Regions from separate parts of the Homo sapiens genome. Here region 1 is linked to region 2. Evidence: promoter capture Hi-C in human tissues and cell types (Jung and others, 2019). All regions are on one chromosome and are shown on one strand. The core of a region is centred on a gene start or on the middle of the fragment in contact, and the rest is flanking DNA. Distances in the headings are between cores, read along the strand shown.

Region 1 (7,440 bases), core at 4,562-7,061, 270 kb after region 2:
ACTGGGAAGTGAGATGATTTGTAGCTTTTTATATTGTTTTTTAGCGAGTTATAATATGTTCATAAGGAACATGTATTGCATCATAATCAGACAAAACAACACAGTCATTTACATGTTTTTAAAAATCCTGTATTTGCTTGAAAATACTCCAGAAAGAACATGTGTGTATGTCGGGGGTGGGGTGAGAGAAATGGATGGAGTAAGAGTGGCAAAATGTCATCTTTGCTGAAGCTGGCCAAAGGGGACTATGAAAAATCACCATATGATTCTCTTGACTTTTGAGTATGTTTGCACATTTCACAAGTGAAGGTGAAAACAAACAAACAAATAAAACCAAGGTCAGCAGTGAGTTCATCCTTGGCTTTTAGAGGATATCACAATTGCAGTGCAAGAAGCACAGAAATACGAGAAACAAATATACAACAGAAATAAGGCCGCAAAACTTAACGCTAAGAACCCAGGAGCCATCAGCTGTGCGACCTCAGGTCAATAACAGCCTTATGAAGCCTCAGGTCCCTCATCTGTAAAACGGGAGGAAACCCTTGTTGCGTGGCAGGCTTGTGGTTGAGACTGAAAATTCTAATTACTACTGTGGCTGCCGTTGTTCAATCCATAGGCCCTGGAAGTCTGGAAGCAAGAGCTCCACACCCCAACAGTGGTTTCAAACTTTGGTGTGCACTGAGATGAGCAGGGTTACTAGCAAACATGCAAATTCCTGGCCAGGCACGGTGGCTCATACCTGTCATCCCAGCACTTAGGGAGGCGGAGGCCAGTGTATGGCTTGAGGTCAGGAGTTGGAGACCAGCCTGGCTAACATGATGAAACCCCATCTCTACTAAAAATATAGAAAATTAGCCAGGCATGGTGGTGCGTGCCTGTAATACCAGCTACTCGGGAGGCCGAGGCAGGAGAATCGCTTGAACCAGGAGGTAGAGGTTTCAGAGAGCTGAGATCGCGCCACTGCATTCCAGCCTGGGTGACAGAGGGAGACCCTGTCTCAAAAAAAAAAAAATGCGGATTCCAAGGTCCTACCCCTAGGGACCCTGACTCCATACGTGGGGCCAGGCCTAGGACCCTCCACTTTAAATAAGACCCCGGGCCATTCCCACTGGGGAAATGCTGCATCTAGCCCCACACCAAAGACACCCGGGTAAGCAAGTCTGCCATGGACAAAAACGCCTCGCCGTGCAGAAACCGGGTCTGGACGTTGTTCGGGGCTGATTGCCCATTTATGACTCTAGGTGGACTTTGTCTGCAGTCATGGCTGGAAAAGCTGGCAAGCAACAGACACCTTTGCAAAAATAGCAAATAAACAATATGTCACATTTGTGGTTTCCTCCTGGGAGGGGCAGAGTCTATGGGCAATTGACTTAGGGCAGAATCCAATTCCAACATGAACTAACTGTGTGGCCCGGGCTGAAGCCCTTGACCATTCAGTATCTGCGTGATGGGAATTCAGTATCAGAAACAGCTCCATGGGGTTTTGTCAATTACACGAGGCTGTCAGGCACCGAGGCCTGGAGCCAGGACCCCATCAGGAAATTTAGGGATCCACTGGATTTATGGCCTCCATGCTCAGGGTGTCAGGTCCCAAACCTTCTCAATGACAGGAAAGCAGGAGTCAGGCCAAGGGAAGGAAGCGCACGTTGCAGCTAGAGACCACACACACCTTGGCAGCACCCCAGGGAGAGACAATTCCCTGCCGCGCCGGGCTTCTCTGCGCACTTCCAGCCCCAATCACTTAAGGAGCCCCTGTCCCACTCTGAGTCTTCTTCTGAGGCCTCTGTTGGTGTTGTCCTGCTCCTGGCTTGGCCTCCAGATCCCTCCTCTCGTGGGGTCCTAGGTCTGAAGGAAAAGCAAGATGGTGGCAGTCTGGGGGAAGAGCATGTGCTTGGGGTCCCTGTGGCCCATTTCTGGGCTTGGCCTGGTCACCTGCTGCAGTCGGTATCACTCATTCAGAACTAAGCAGTAACGCCAGGCGGGTCATGTCCTTCTTGTAAAATTGTTTGTTTGGGGAATTTGTGGTGAACTCCAAATCTCTCTCTCTCTCTCACAATTGATACTATTAGAGTCATTTGTGCTTGATTGCAGCTCTGTGGAAGGGACAGCCCCCACTTCTCCCCTCGCCTCTTTGTGGTTATTTGTAGGGCAGTCACAGGAAACCAATAAAATGGCATTTCCCCCTAAACATGAGTGTGGCTCTCAGCGCAACCCAGTTTACAATAAATAGTCTATCCTTGCCCTATAGGACCAGGCCTCAGGAAGGGCTTGGGGGCCTCAGAGGCAAATGACACCCAGCCCTTCAACCCTGCACAACCACAGACCTCACACCCAGTGGTAGCCAATTTGGCTGAACAGCACCCTAGACTGTGGGCTCCCCCTGGTGCTGGGCCCCCTCACAAGGAGGCAGGGCCCACCCTCCTGATCTAGCCTGAGCCCCTGAGTCCTCTCCCAACCTCCTCCCAGCGATCTCAGCCGCTCCAGCAAGGCGTGGGGCTGCTGTCCTTCAGCTGCCTCCCTCTCCAGAGGAGGAGAGGCGGCAGATGTCGAGGCAGAGGTGGAGAAAAGCTCCTGGCACGCTTGCAGCTGGGGTTACCTTGTGCACGGGCAGAGTCAGGGAAGCGGGAGACAGTAGGTGCCCTGTGTGGAAAACCAGAATCTCGGGGCCAGGACCCAGAGAATGCTGGAGGGCCCGGGAGGTCAGCGTCTGCCCTCTCCTTATGAGGGAGGCCCCCTCCTTCAGGCAGCCTGCCTGCTTCAGAGTGGGGAGTCCAGGTTGTCAGTTCTGTAGGGTCGATGGACCTGGTCTCATTTGCCTCTGAGGCCCCCAAGCCCTTCCTGAGGCCTGGTCCTGTAGGGCAGGGATTTCATATTTGTTGTGAACTGGATTGAGCTGAGCCACACCGATGTCTGGGGGGATATGACATTGTTTCGGTTTCCCTGGCTGCCCTACAAGTAACCACAACACGCGTGAGTGAGGGAGGGGTGGGGAGATGGGGGTAGGGGAGGGGTGGGGGGGGGGTGGGAGATGGGGATGGGGGAGGGGTGGGAGATGGGGGTGGGAGAGGGTCGGGGGGTGGGGGAGGGTGGGGGTTGGGGGTTGAAAACAATAGCAACTTACCCTCTCACAGTTCTGGAGGCCAGGAGTCCAAAGTCAAGGTGTGGGCATGGCTCTGTTCCCTCTGGAGGCTCTAGGGGAGGGTCCTCCCTGTCTCTTGCAGCCTCTGGTAGGCCCAGGCACTCCTTGGCTCCAATCTCTGCCATTCTTGCACATAGTCTCCTTTCCCCCGAAGTCTCTATGTGTTCTTTTCTGTATCTTGTAAGGACAGTCTCATTGCATGTAGGGCTCACCTTAATTCAGTGTGATTTTATCTTGACTCTTACCTTAATTATATCTGCAAAGACTCTTTTCCCAAATAAGGTCACATTCTGAGATTTGGGGTAGAGATAAACTTTGGGGGGACATGATTCAACCTACTAAGCCATTAAATCACAAAGAGCACGCAAGAAGGACCAAAAAGGCAGCGGGAAGTGGGGAGGACCTTGATCCAAGGACTTCCACAGCTCAGGCCTCCCTTGTTCCAGCCAGCAAGGGCTTTCCATGAGCACCTTTGACTTCCACTGCTAGCCAGGATGACGGGTTCCTGGCTGTCTTCTACAGATGAGGAAACTGAGGCTCAGAGGCCTCTGAATGCATAGCCAAGTTCACACAGTCAGCCACAGCTGGGACTGGAGCTCACTTGGTACCAAAGCCTGGGGGTTTCACAGCCAGCTCGGCTGGATTGAAGAAGCCCCACCCCCACCCCCAGCACTAATGAGGTTCCAAGATCTTTCTCCAAGGAGCTTGCTTTATCAATAAGAAATGAATCTTTTGTTTTGTTTTGTTTTTGAGACAGAGTCTTACGCTGTCACCCAGGCTGGAGTGCAGTGGCGGGATCCCCATTCACCGCAACCTCCCTTTCCCGGGCTCGGGCAATCCTTCCACTGCAGTCTCCCAAGTACCTGGGACTACAGGCACATGCCACCACATCTGGCTAATTTTTGTAGTTTTTGTAGAGATGGGATTTCGCCATGTTGCCCAGGCTGGTCTCGAACTCCTGGGCTCAAGGGATCTACCCTCGGCCTCCCAAAGTACTGGGATTACAGATGTGAGCCTCTGAGCCCAGCCAAACTGTCTTGATGTTCACGTTCTTTCACTACCTTAGATTATGAATTTTGGAATGTGGCCAGTTCCCTGGAATCACATTAAGAAGTGAGGTCCAGGACAACGACGATTAATTTAATTATTAATAGAAATCAGCCTAGACCTGGGAAATAAGATGAGGAGACCCAACTGTCCCCAGCCTTGCCCTTGTGCCCATGTGGGAGGCCATCCTGACTCCATTTAGATTTTTGCTTCTTCCTACACTGACAAAGAACACTGGGGCAGCTCCAGGGAAATGTGCCCAAGGTGTGGAGGGGGCTGGGGGAGTGGAGAGCAATTTTTTTTGTTCCCAACCATGCCTTTCTGCAATCTCTGTTCATCCTCGAAGACCTAAGACTGGAGAATGTGGGGTTTGTTTGTTTTGGAGCGACTGGGGCGGGGAGGGGGGGTCTCACCATGTTGCCCAGGTTGGTCTTAAACTCTTGGCCTCAAGCGATCCTCCTGCCTCGGTCTACCCAGTAGCTGGAACCACAGGCGTGCCAGATTCGGCTGAAGAGTTTTGTTAGGAAGTTTTCAGCACCTTGGACCATATCCTGAAAAAGTTCATTCATTGATTTAACCAATCTCTAGTGTGCACTGCCCAGAACCAGAGTGTAAGCTCCACAGGGTAGGGAGGGCGCCAGCTTTGCTCTCAGCTGCCCCCGGGCGCTTGGGACCTGGAACCCATGAATGAACAGACCCCGTTCTAGATCAACAGACATTCAAAGCAGCGCTCTAGGGGAAGGGCAGGGGAGGAATGAGCGTCCAGCCCCCGCGGCTCTACTTCTATGCCTGTGTGTAAGTGGTGGGATTTAAAGGTGGTTGGGTGCACCGGCCCTTCCCCCACCTGCAATCCGGTGCCAATGCAAGTGCCAGGGGAGGGTGGCGTTTCTGTTTACTTCCAGCCAGGTCAGCTCCCTTGCCCCCTCCCCTGTGTTTGCATTTTCTGCGTTTGGCGAGCTGGTGAAGTAGCCGCGGAAAGAAGGCGGATTTAAAGGCTCCATTTGGACGAGGCTTTTGGAGAAAGCTTGCACCTCCCATCACACCCCCAGGGCAAGTCAGCCGCCTCAAAAGTGCCGGTGCCGGCCCTCTGTGAGCTCAACACCTTCGCACAAACCTCGGGGGCGGTTATTATTACCCTCTTTTTCCCGGGGAGGCGCCTGGGGCTCAGAGAGGCCAAGTGACTCGCCCAAGGTCACACAGCTTTGCAGTGGCCGACCCGGGATTGGAACCCGGGGCTCCGGACCCCGCGGCGGCCGTTTCTCGAAGATACCCACTACCTCCCTCTTACACCGCTCAAAAATAAAGCAGGAAGGCCGAACGCCCCGTTTTCGCCGAAAAACAATGCTCCACGCAAATTTGCGGGAACAAAAGCAACCAGAAATCCAGCCCGGGTTTTCCGCCTCTCCGATTCCGCGGACCAATCGCGTCTTGACGGCCGCCGAGGGACGGGAGGCGGTGGCCCCAACATGATCGACAGCCCCCAGGGAGGCGTGGCCGCGGAACGGGCGAATGGGATTGGGGACCCGGCACAATCACGGGCCGAGAACGGGCCGCCTGAGCCAATCAGTGGGGGGGGGACGGGCCCGGCAGGCCCGGGCTGTCGCGAGAGGCGGCCACCCCGCCCACTTCTGCTGATCCCGGCCGCCCGTCAGCCGCGAGCGCGACGATCCCTCCGCTCCTCGGCCGGCGCCTCCTCCGCCGTCGCCGTCGCCGTCGCCGTCGCCGTCGCCGCCGCCGCCGCGCTCGGGCCCGGATCCGTCCGCCGCGCGGGAGCAGCAAGGCCGGCAAGTCCCGGCCGGATCCCTCCGCGCCTCCCGCCGCGCGTCCCTCCCCCTCCAGCGTCCGTTTCGCGGCCGCGGCCCCCAGCGCTCCCCAGGCGGCGACGCCGCGCCCGCGGCCCGGGGTAACGGCCGGCCTGGGCGGAGGCGCGGGCGGCGGCGACGGCATGGCCGGGGCGGCTCCGTCGGGGGGCGGCCCGCAGTGACAGACCCTGCGGCGCGGGGGGAGATGGGGGCGGCCGCCTCCCGGGCGACGACGACGACGACGACGAGGAGCAGCCGCCGCCGCCGCCGCGCACCGGCCGCCGCTGGGCACGGGCGCGGGGAAGGCGCCTCCCCGTGAGCGGGGGGCCCGAGGCCGCTCGCCGCCCCCGGCCGCCCCGGCCGCCCCGGGCCCCCCCGGCGCCCCGCGCGCGCCCGCCCGCCGGCCCCTGACGGGAGCCTTGCCCGGCCCCGGTCCCCGCCCCCGCCCCGGCGCCCGCCCGGCCCGCGGCGCCCGCGCGCCCTCGCCCGGACCCGGCCCCGGCCCGCGCGTCCCCGGTCCCGGCGCGCCCCGGCCGCGGCCCCCGGCGCCCCCCGGCCGCCCCCGCGCGGTCCCCGGCCCCGGGTCGCGGCGCGGCGCGGGCGGCAGCATGGTGGAGAAGCGCTGCCCGCTGCAGAGGGACGGCGTGTACCGCTGGTTCTCGGAGCTGCCGTCGCCGCAGCGCGTGGAGTTCCTGTGCGGCCTGCTGGACCTGTGCATCCCGCTCGAGCTTCGCTTCCTCGGCTCGTGCCTGGAGGACCTGGCCCGCAAGGACTACCACTCGCTGCGCGACTCGGAGATCAAGGCCAACAACCCGGCCGACCTGGGCAGCCTCACCAACCTGACGGACGAGGTGGTGCGCAGCAAGCTGCTGGTGTCGCTGGCGCTGCTGGGCTCGGAGCAGCGCGAGGCGGCGGGCGTGCTCTACCGCACGCTCACGCACATCGACTCCATCATCCACAACTACGGGCTGCAGCTTAACGAGGGCCGCACGGGCGATGAGTTCCTGCTGCTGTTCACCATGGCCTCCAACCACCCGGCCTTCAGCTTCCACCAGAAGCAGGTGCTGCGCCAGGAGCTCACGCAGATCCAGAGCAGCCTGAACGGCGGCGGGGGCCACGGCGGCAAGGGCGCGCCCGGGCCGGGCGGCGCGCTGCCCACTTGCCCAGCCTGCCACAAGGTGCGTGCCCGCCCCGAGCTCTGCCCTGTACCCCAAGTCTGCATCCCCAACTCTGCACTCCAAGCCTCCAGCCTGCACCGCGACCCCCCGACCCACGCCTCCAGCCTGCACTGAGAGCTCCCACCCAGGTCTCCAACCTGCACCACGAGCCCCCAGCCCGTATCCCAAGCCCCATCCTAAGCCTCTATGTCGCACCCCAAATGTGTGCCCCACCTCTCCAAGCCTCCACCGTACATCCCAAGCCTCCGCCGTACATCCCAAGCCTCCGCCGTAC
Region 2 (6,795 bases), core at 2,265-4,764:
TCCAATCACATTGATTACTTGTGGTGAGGATAATTAGAAGTTAGCATATTTTCCTAAAATTTAATCTATTATTAATAGATTTTTTTTCTCTTCTGCACTTCAACTTGAAGGCAGCAGAGGGCGCCTGATCACACAAAAGATACACTCTAAAAGTCAGCGACAGATTAAAGATAATCCATGAAAGTTTCAACAATGTGAATTTTACTAAAATAGAGCCTTGTACTTAATCTTTTGACTATTTTAGGATCTGATCTCATTTTAGATGTTCTATTCCGTCTTTCTCAGTATGAGAATTTCAGTCTCACGTAAATCACCATGACACCTATAATCCAAGAGCCTTCTAATTTAGCTTCAAGCTTCTTTCAGATAATAAAAGTATTAAACCCCGCATCCACCAGATCCTCCTAAATCTTCAATAGGTCATACGCTCTCCCTGTCTCCGGCCTGAAGTGGGCACCACTGTAATGTACTGCAGCCAGATGTGCTGTGAATGAAGAGCCTTTTGGCTTCAAGTGCATTGCCTCAGGTTTACCCAGGATTTTTAGAAAAATATTAAAGGATTACGTATGTTCTTAAAGTCATAGTACACTAGAGGGGACAGAACTATTTCCCGAGGGCAATAGTGAGGATTTAGCCTTTTGTAGTTCGTCATGGAAGATAAACATGCCTGGATGCCCAGGCTGGGTTTCTGTGAAATTCTCCAGCTCCTTTCTGCTCAGCTCCTAACCGGTTTTTTTTTTCTACCACCACATAGGTTTCCTACAAGCAGTGCTGGAGACCATGGTGGTCTTCAACCAGTGCTATCTTTTCTTCTCATTATTTCCCCAAATTTCATTTTTCTTCTTAAAGAGCTAGGTTTATGGATAAGGCTTGGAGTGGGTTGGAAAATCATTCCTCCTCAGCTGCTCAGTGACTAGTCATTGATTGGATCTAAGGTAACTTTTTTTGTTTTTGAGACAGAGTTTCGCTTTTGCTGCCCAGGCTGGAGTGCAATGGCGTGATCTGGGCTCACCGCAACCTTTCCTCCCGGTTCAAGCAATTCTCCTACCTCAGCCTCCTGAGTAGCTGGGATTAAAGGTGCACACCACCACACCTGGCTAATTTTTTTGTATTTTTGTAGAGACGGGGTTTCACCATGTTGGCCAGGCTGGTTTTGAACTCCTGACCTCGTGATCTGCCCACCTTGGCCTCCCAAAGTGCTGGGATTACAGATGTGAGCCACTACGCCTGGCCGAGTTAACTTCTTCTTTTTTTTTTTTTTTTTGAGACGGAGTCTAGCTCTGTTGCCCAGGCTGGAGTGCAGTGGTTCAGTCTCGGCTCACTGCAACCTCTGTCTCCCAGGCTCAAGCCATTCTCCTGACTCAGCCTCCCGAGTAGCTGGGATTACAGGTGCGCACCACCATGCCTGTCTAATTTTGTATTTTTAGTGGAGATGGGGTTTCACCATGTTGATCAGGCTGGTCTCAAACTCCTGACCTCAGGTGATCTGCCTGCCTCTGCCTCTCAAAGTGCTAGGATTACAGGCGTGAGCCATCACACCTGGCTGGATCTAAGATAACATCTTTTTTTTTTTTTTTTTTTGAGATGGAGTCTTGCTTTGTCGCCCAGGCTGGAGTGCAGTGGTGCAATCTCCGCTCACTGCAACCTCTGCCGCCTAGGTTCAAATGATTCTTTTGCCTCAGCCTCCTGAATAGTTGGGACTACAGGTGGGTGCCACCACACCTGGCTAATTTTTTTTTTTTTTTTTGTATTTTTAGTGGAGACAGGGTTTCACCATATTGGCCAGGCTGGTCTTGAACTCCTGACCTCGTGATCAGCCCGCTTCAGCCTCCCAAAGTGCTGGGATTACAGGAATGAACCACCACGCCTGGCCTAAGAGAACTTTTAAAGGCTGACTCACACACAAAGTAATAAACTAGATTATTTCCTGATTTATGCTTTCCCTTTGCCAAATTTTGGCTTGTCCTTGTCCTTAATTTGCCTTATTCCTTGATTACCCATCCAAAGATGACATCTTCTAAGTAGTGATAAGCATTTTTACTCTGCTCTTTCAAATCATAACATTCCATGCACTGCAGATGATTTTGCCATTTCTTACGTAATTTGAGGCAAATCCTAGAGTACAATTTCCTAGCAGGCATTTGGATATTACCTATCTTTATTTCTCAGGCTCCACAAATTGAGTACCCTTTCAGGGTGCTATCATTAGCTCTAGCCTACCTATGAAGAAACAAAAGTCCTCCATGTTAGGACATTTGAGGACATGCCCTTAGTACCTAACAGTGTCTGGCACATTTTAAATGGGAAGGTGGAAGGGCCCCCCCATTTTTTTTTTTTTTTAAGATGGAATTTTGCTCTTTTGCCCAAGCTGGAGTGAAGTGGCTTGATCTCAGCTCATTGCAACCTCTGCCCCCTGGGTTCAAGCAATTCTCCTGCCTCAGCCTCCCAAGTAGCTGGGATTACAGGTGCCCACCACCACGCCTGGCTAATTTTTGTAGTTTTAGTAGAGACGGGGGTTTCACCATGTTGGCTAGGCTGGTCTCGAACTCCTGACCTCGTGATCCACTCACCTCGGCCTCCCAAAGTGCTGGGATTACAGGCGTGAGCCACCGCGCCCGGCAGGGACTGTCTTACTCAGGATCTGCAAAATCTTATAACTGTGTGAAATTTTTTTTCTGGGAAAAAAGCACTCATTTGTTTGGTCTGAGGGGAAAAAATGGGGCTAGCCCAAGAGTCGCCCACTTAGTTCTACCCAGGGCGAAGCAATGTGCCTTAACGGGGGGCACGTGCACCCCGGAAAACTCAAGAGAAAATGAGCCGGGCGTGGTGGGCTCCTGTGGTCCCAGCTACTCCAGAGGCGGAGGTTACAGCGAGCCGAGATCGCGCTACCGCACTCCAGCCTGGGCGACAGAGCAAGACCCTGCCTCAAAAAAATAGAAATAAAAAATAAAACTCAGAGGGCACGTCTCCTAGGACACGGGGACAGGCTAGGTGGGGGCACAGGGCGTGAGAATTGGCGAGCATGGCCGGGGTATGTCAGGCCGGGGCTGCCATCTTTTTTGTTTTTTGAAACAGGATCTCGCTCTGTCGCCCAGGTTGGGGTGCAGGGGCGCATTGCTGCCTGGAACTCCTTGACTCAAGCGATCTTCCCGCCTCACCTTCCCGAGGAGCTAGGACCACTGGGCGCGAGACACCACGCCCGGTTAATTTTTTTTTTTTTCTTCTGTAGCGACTGGGGGTGGGGGGTGGTGTCTCGCTTTGTTGCCCAGGCTGATCTCGAACTCCTGGACTCAAGCGATCCGCCCGCCAAGGCCTCCCAAAGCTCCAGGGTTACAGGCATGAGCCACCGCGCCCAGCCCGGGGCCGGTCATCTTTTCCGGGGCCTTATGCAGAGTCCGAGGCCCCCGAGCCCGCTGCCGAAGACGGAGCTCCAAGACCGAACCTCGTAAAGGGCCCAGCCGCACCTCTACCCGGAAGCGGCTCGAACTCGGGGCCGGAAGTGACTCCATTTCTGTGCGCCGAGCTCCGCCCCACGAGCACCTGTTTCCGAGCGGAGAGCGCGGGCCGTTTTCTTTCCTGGTGTCCCGTCGCGGCTTGGGACCCGGCAAGATGGGCAAGAAGGGCAAGAAGGAGAAGAAGGGCCGCGGCGCGGAGAAGACGGCCGCCAAGATGGAGAAGAAGGTGTCTAAGCGCTCGCGGAAGGAGGAGGTGAGCGGGTCAGACCGGGCTTAGCGGCCCGACGTCGCGGCCGTGCAGCCTCGGCCGACTCCCTGCGCCCCCCGGGGTTACGGGTCGGCCGTGGGAGCCGCGCCGGCCCTGCGGGAGAGCTGGAGGCCGTAGGAACTGCCCCGGCGCCGCGTCCGGGCAGCCCAGACGGGGCCCGCCCCCTCCTGAGTCTCCACGTGTGTCTGTCCGCTTCTCGGAGCTGCCCCCTTTAACGTGCTTGCTTTTCTTAGTGTGGTGTCACGGGCGTTTTTCTGCGTTTCCTCCCCCTCCTCCCTTCTCCCTCCACCCTCCCTCTGAAGGGAGGCTGGGTGGTGAGAAGAGGGAGGGGTTTGGCACAGGAAGACCTGAGGTTGAGCCGGGGGCTGCCTCTGCATGATGTGTGGTCTGGGAGTAAGACTCTTAACTTTTCTGAACCTTACTTTTCTTTCAAAAGAGGGCAAATAATCATCACAGCAGCCCTGAGCAGTGAGCAGCAGATGGTTAAGTGAAGAAGGCACTGGAGCCACGGGGTATCCCGTAGCAGCTGATGGCGGCCATCACGGTTGTCTCCTTCCCTCTGGTCCTCAGCCCGGGGTCTGCAGGAGGATCCGTCCTGACCTTGGGGTTGAGTGTTCTGCGGCTGCTGCTCATGGATTCCCTAACCGGGGCCAGTTTTATGGCCTGCCGTGCGCCAGGCACAGCTCCCTGGGCTTTACTCCTCACGAGCAGGTCAGTTCCGTAGCACTGGTATTCCCATTTGACAGGAAGACCAACAGGTGAACCATGAAGTGGTATGGAACTGGGATGTGACCAGATGTCCTGAATCAGGAGCTCTTGACCACAGTCCTTTGTCCCTTTTCTTCCTAAGTCATTGATCTCTCCATGTCCTCATCTCTTAAATAATGGAGTTGGACTTTTCCCTCACACTCCTCTTAGGCTCTTTCTTTTTTTTTTTTTTTTTTTTGACAGAGTCTTGCTCTGTCACCTAGGCTGGGCTGCAGTGGCATGACCTGCTGGCTAGGGTTGTGGCACAGGAAGTCAGTTCATCTGTGTGGTATCTTCAGAATGGTGCTTGGCAGAAAGTAAGCACTCAGTAACCAGCTGTTAGCTGCTTTCTGCTTTTTTTTTTTTTTTTTTTTTTTTTTTTTGAAGGAGTTTCACTCTTGTTGCCCAGGGTGGAGTGCAATGGTGCGATCTCAGCTCACTGCACCTCCGCCTCCCAGGTTCAAGTGGTTCTCCTGCCTCAGCCTCCCAAGTAGCTGAGATTACAGGCATGCACCACCACACCCAGCTAATTTTGTATTTTTAATAGAGACCGGGTTTCACCGTTTTGGTCAGGCTGGTCTGGGACTCCTGACCTCAGGTGATGCGCTCGCCTCGGCCTCCCAAAGTGCTGGGATTACAAGCCGTAAGCCACCTTGCCCCGCCAGTTACCTGTCATTTTTACTCATCTCCATGTCTCCCTCCAGTACCCAATACTAAGGTGATTGTAACAGTAGCTTCCCTTAAGAGAGAGAGCCTGTCAGGCCTGGGGTTTGTATGTTATCTGAATGAACCCTCAAAACAAACTTTTAAAATAAGTGGGCGTCTGATTAGGCTAGACCCACAGAGGATCATCTCTTTCTTAAATTCAGCTGTGTCTGTAATACAACCTAATCACAAGAGTGGTATCCCATTCTTTCACAGTCCTGGCAATTATTGGGGGAAGGATTGGGGACAGTTTGGAATTCTGCTCCCACAGAACTCATGTATCAGGTCACCTGGTTCGCACCTTCACTTAGTCCTGGCCTCTGCCTGTCTTTCCAGCTGTCTCCCTGGGCTCACTCCAGCCACAGTGTCTTTTAGTGTCTCAAACATGGCAAGTTGTGTCTGTGGTCTTACCTATACCCCAACCATACTCCGTCTGAGTCGTCTTTTCAGCATTCAGCTTATTGTCACTTTGGAGAGGCTGTCACTGGCTAGGCCACTGGCGTCACCCAGACCCTACCACCTTGCTCTCCTTCAGTCACCCAATGATGATGAGGTTCAGCCAAGGTCAAAGACCGCTCTAAGTAGCAGCAGCAAAGCTTTCGCGGTACATAGACGTTAGTATTTGAACTGTTTGTTTAACCTCGTTGAGCAAAAAAAGCAAGTTGAAAGAATATACAGTATGATACCATTTAATGACATTTTATTTTTTATTTTTTTTGAGATGGAGTCCTGCTCTGTCACCCAGAGCAAGTGTCGCAGTGGCATGATCTCAGCTCATTGCAACCTCTGCCTCCCAGGCTCAAGCAATTCTCCTGCCTCAGCCTCCCGAGTAGTTTGGGACTACAGGTGTGCGCCACTGTGGCCGGCTAATTTTTGTATTTTTTAGTAGAGACGGGGTTTCACCGTGTTGGTCAGGCTGGTCTCGAACTCCTGACCTCAAATTATCCACCTGCCTCGGCCTCCCAAAGTTCGGGGATTACAGGCGTGAGCCACTGTGCCCAGTCCATTTAATGACATTTAAAAATGTAAAACAATACTATATGTTGCTTAGGGATACACATGTGTAATAAAAGATTGAAGAAAAGCGTGAGACTAATAAGCATCGAGTTCCAGATAGTGGTTACTTGAGGGAATGTGTGGGTGGGTACATGTGGGTGACACTTTATTCCTTACCCTGGGAACCGTATACAGGAATGTCTTGGATAAAGTTCTGTTAACTTGTGTGTTTTAAATATTGCATCGTTTAGAATACTAAGCAGTGTACCCTGCTGACATTCACCCTGAGATGAGAGGTAGACTGAAGGAAGCACGAGGTGGGGCGTGGCAGGCTGAGGGAACCTGGCGTTTTCATTGAAGGAACGGAGAGGACGCTGGTGTATCTTGGAGAGTGAGGCCAGGTGGGAGGTGAGGTTGGAGAGGTGGGTGTGGGGGAGGGAAGATGGTCTGCAGGTGTGTGTAGTTGCAAGCAGGACACTGAAGGCTAGAAGGAACTTGAAATGCCAGGCTCGGGTGTGCATGGGAGTGTCTCGTAAATGTTGGGAAATGGGCACTGGGACTGAGGCGGGAACACTGGGTTCCAGTGCTGCCCTCTGTGCTGGCACATCAGTACCTTGAGTCACT

The links. The method cuts DNA at HindIII sites, captures the fragments that hold promoters and counts their contacts. A contact is called where the count stands out against the background at its distance.
Region 1: a contact is called between the fragment with the promoter of ZCCHC14 here and the fragment with the promoter of KLHDC4 in region 2, in 4 of the 25 tissues and cell types used here (dorsolateral prefrontal cortex, hippocampus, lymphoblastoid cells and 1 more).

The regions. Positions count from the first base shown.
Region 1 is chr16:87,491,395-87,498,834 of GRCh38, reverse strand. ZCCHC14 (zinc finger CCHC-type containing 14) reads left to right here and starts at 5,811. Exons shown (of 13, transcript NM_015144.3): 1 at 5,811-7,166. The coding sequence starts at 6,597. ZCCHC14-DT (ZCCHC14 divergent transcript) reads right to left here and starts at 4,648. Exons shown (of 4, transcript NR_110943.1): 1 at 4,600-4,648. RefSeq lists a silencer at 5,693-5,872. The HindIII fragment of the contact is 17,996 bases long and covers 1,409-7,440 here.
Region 2 is chr16:87,762,705-87,769,499 of GRCh38, reverse strand. It overlaps KLHDC4 (kelch domain containing 4), which reads left to right and starts at 3,514. Exons shown (of 12, transcript NM_017566.4): 1 at 3,514-3,708. The coding sequence starts at 3,610. It overlaps LOC105371399 (a long non-coding RNA gene), which reads right to left and starts at 3,459. Exons shown (of 3, transcript XR_933871.3): 1 at 3,159-3,459. LOC102724467 (a long non-coding RNA gene) reads left to right here. Exons shown (of 4, transcript NR_120309.1): 4 at 3,076-3,169. RefSeq lists enhancers at 3,419-3,478, 3,559-3,618, 3,602-4,226. The HindIII fragment of the contact is 6,630 bases long and covers 116-6,745 here.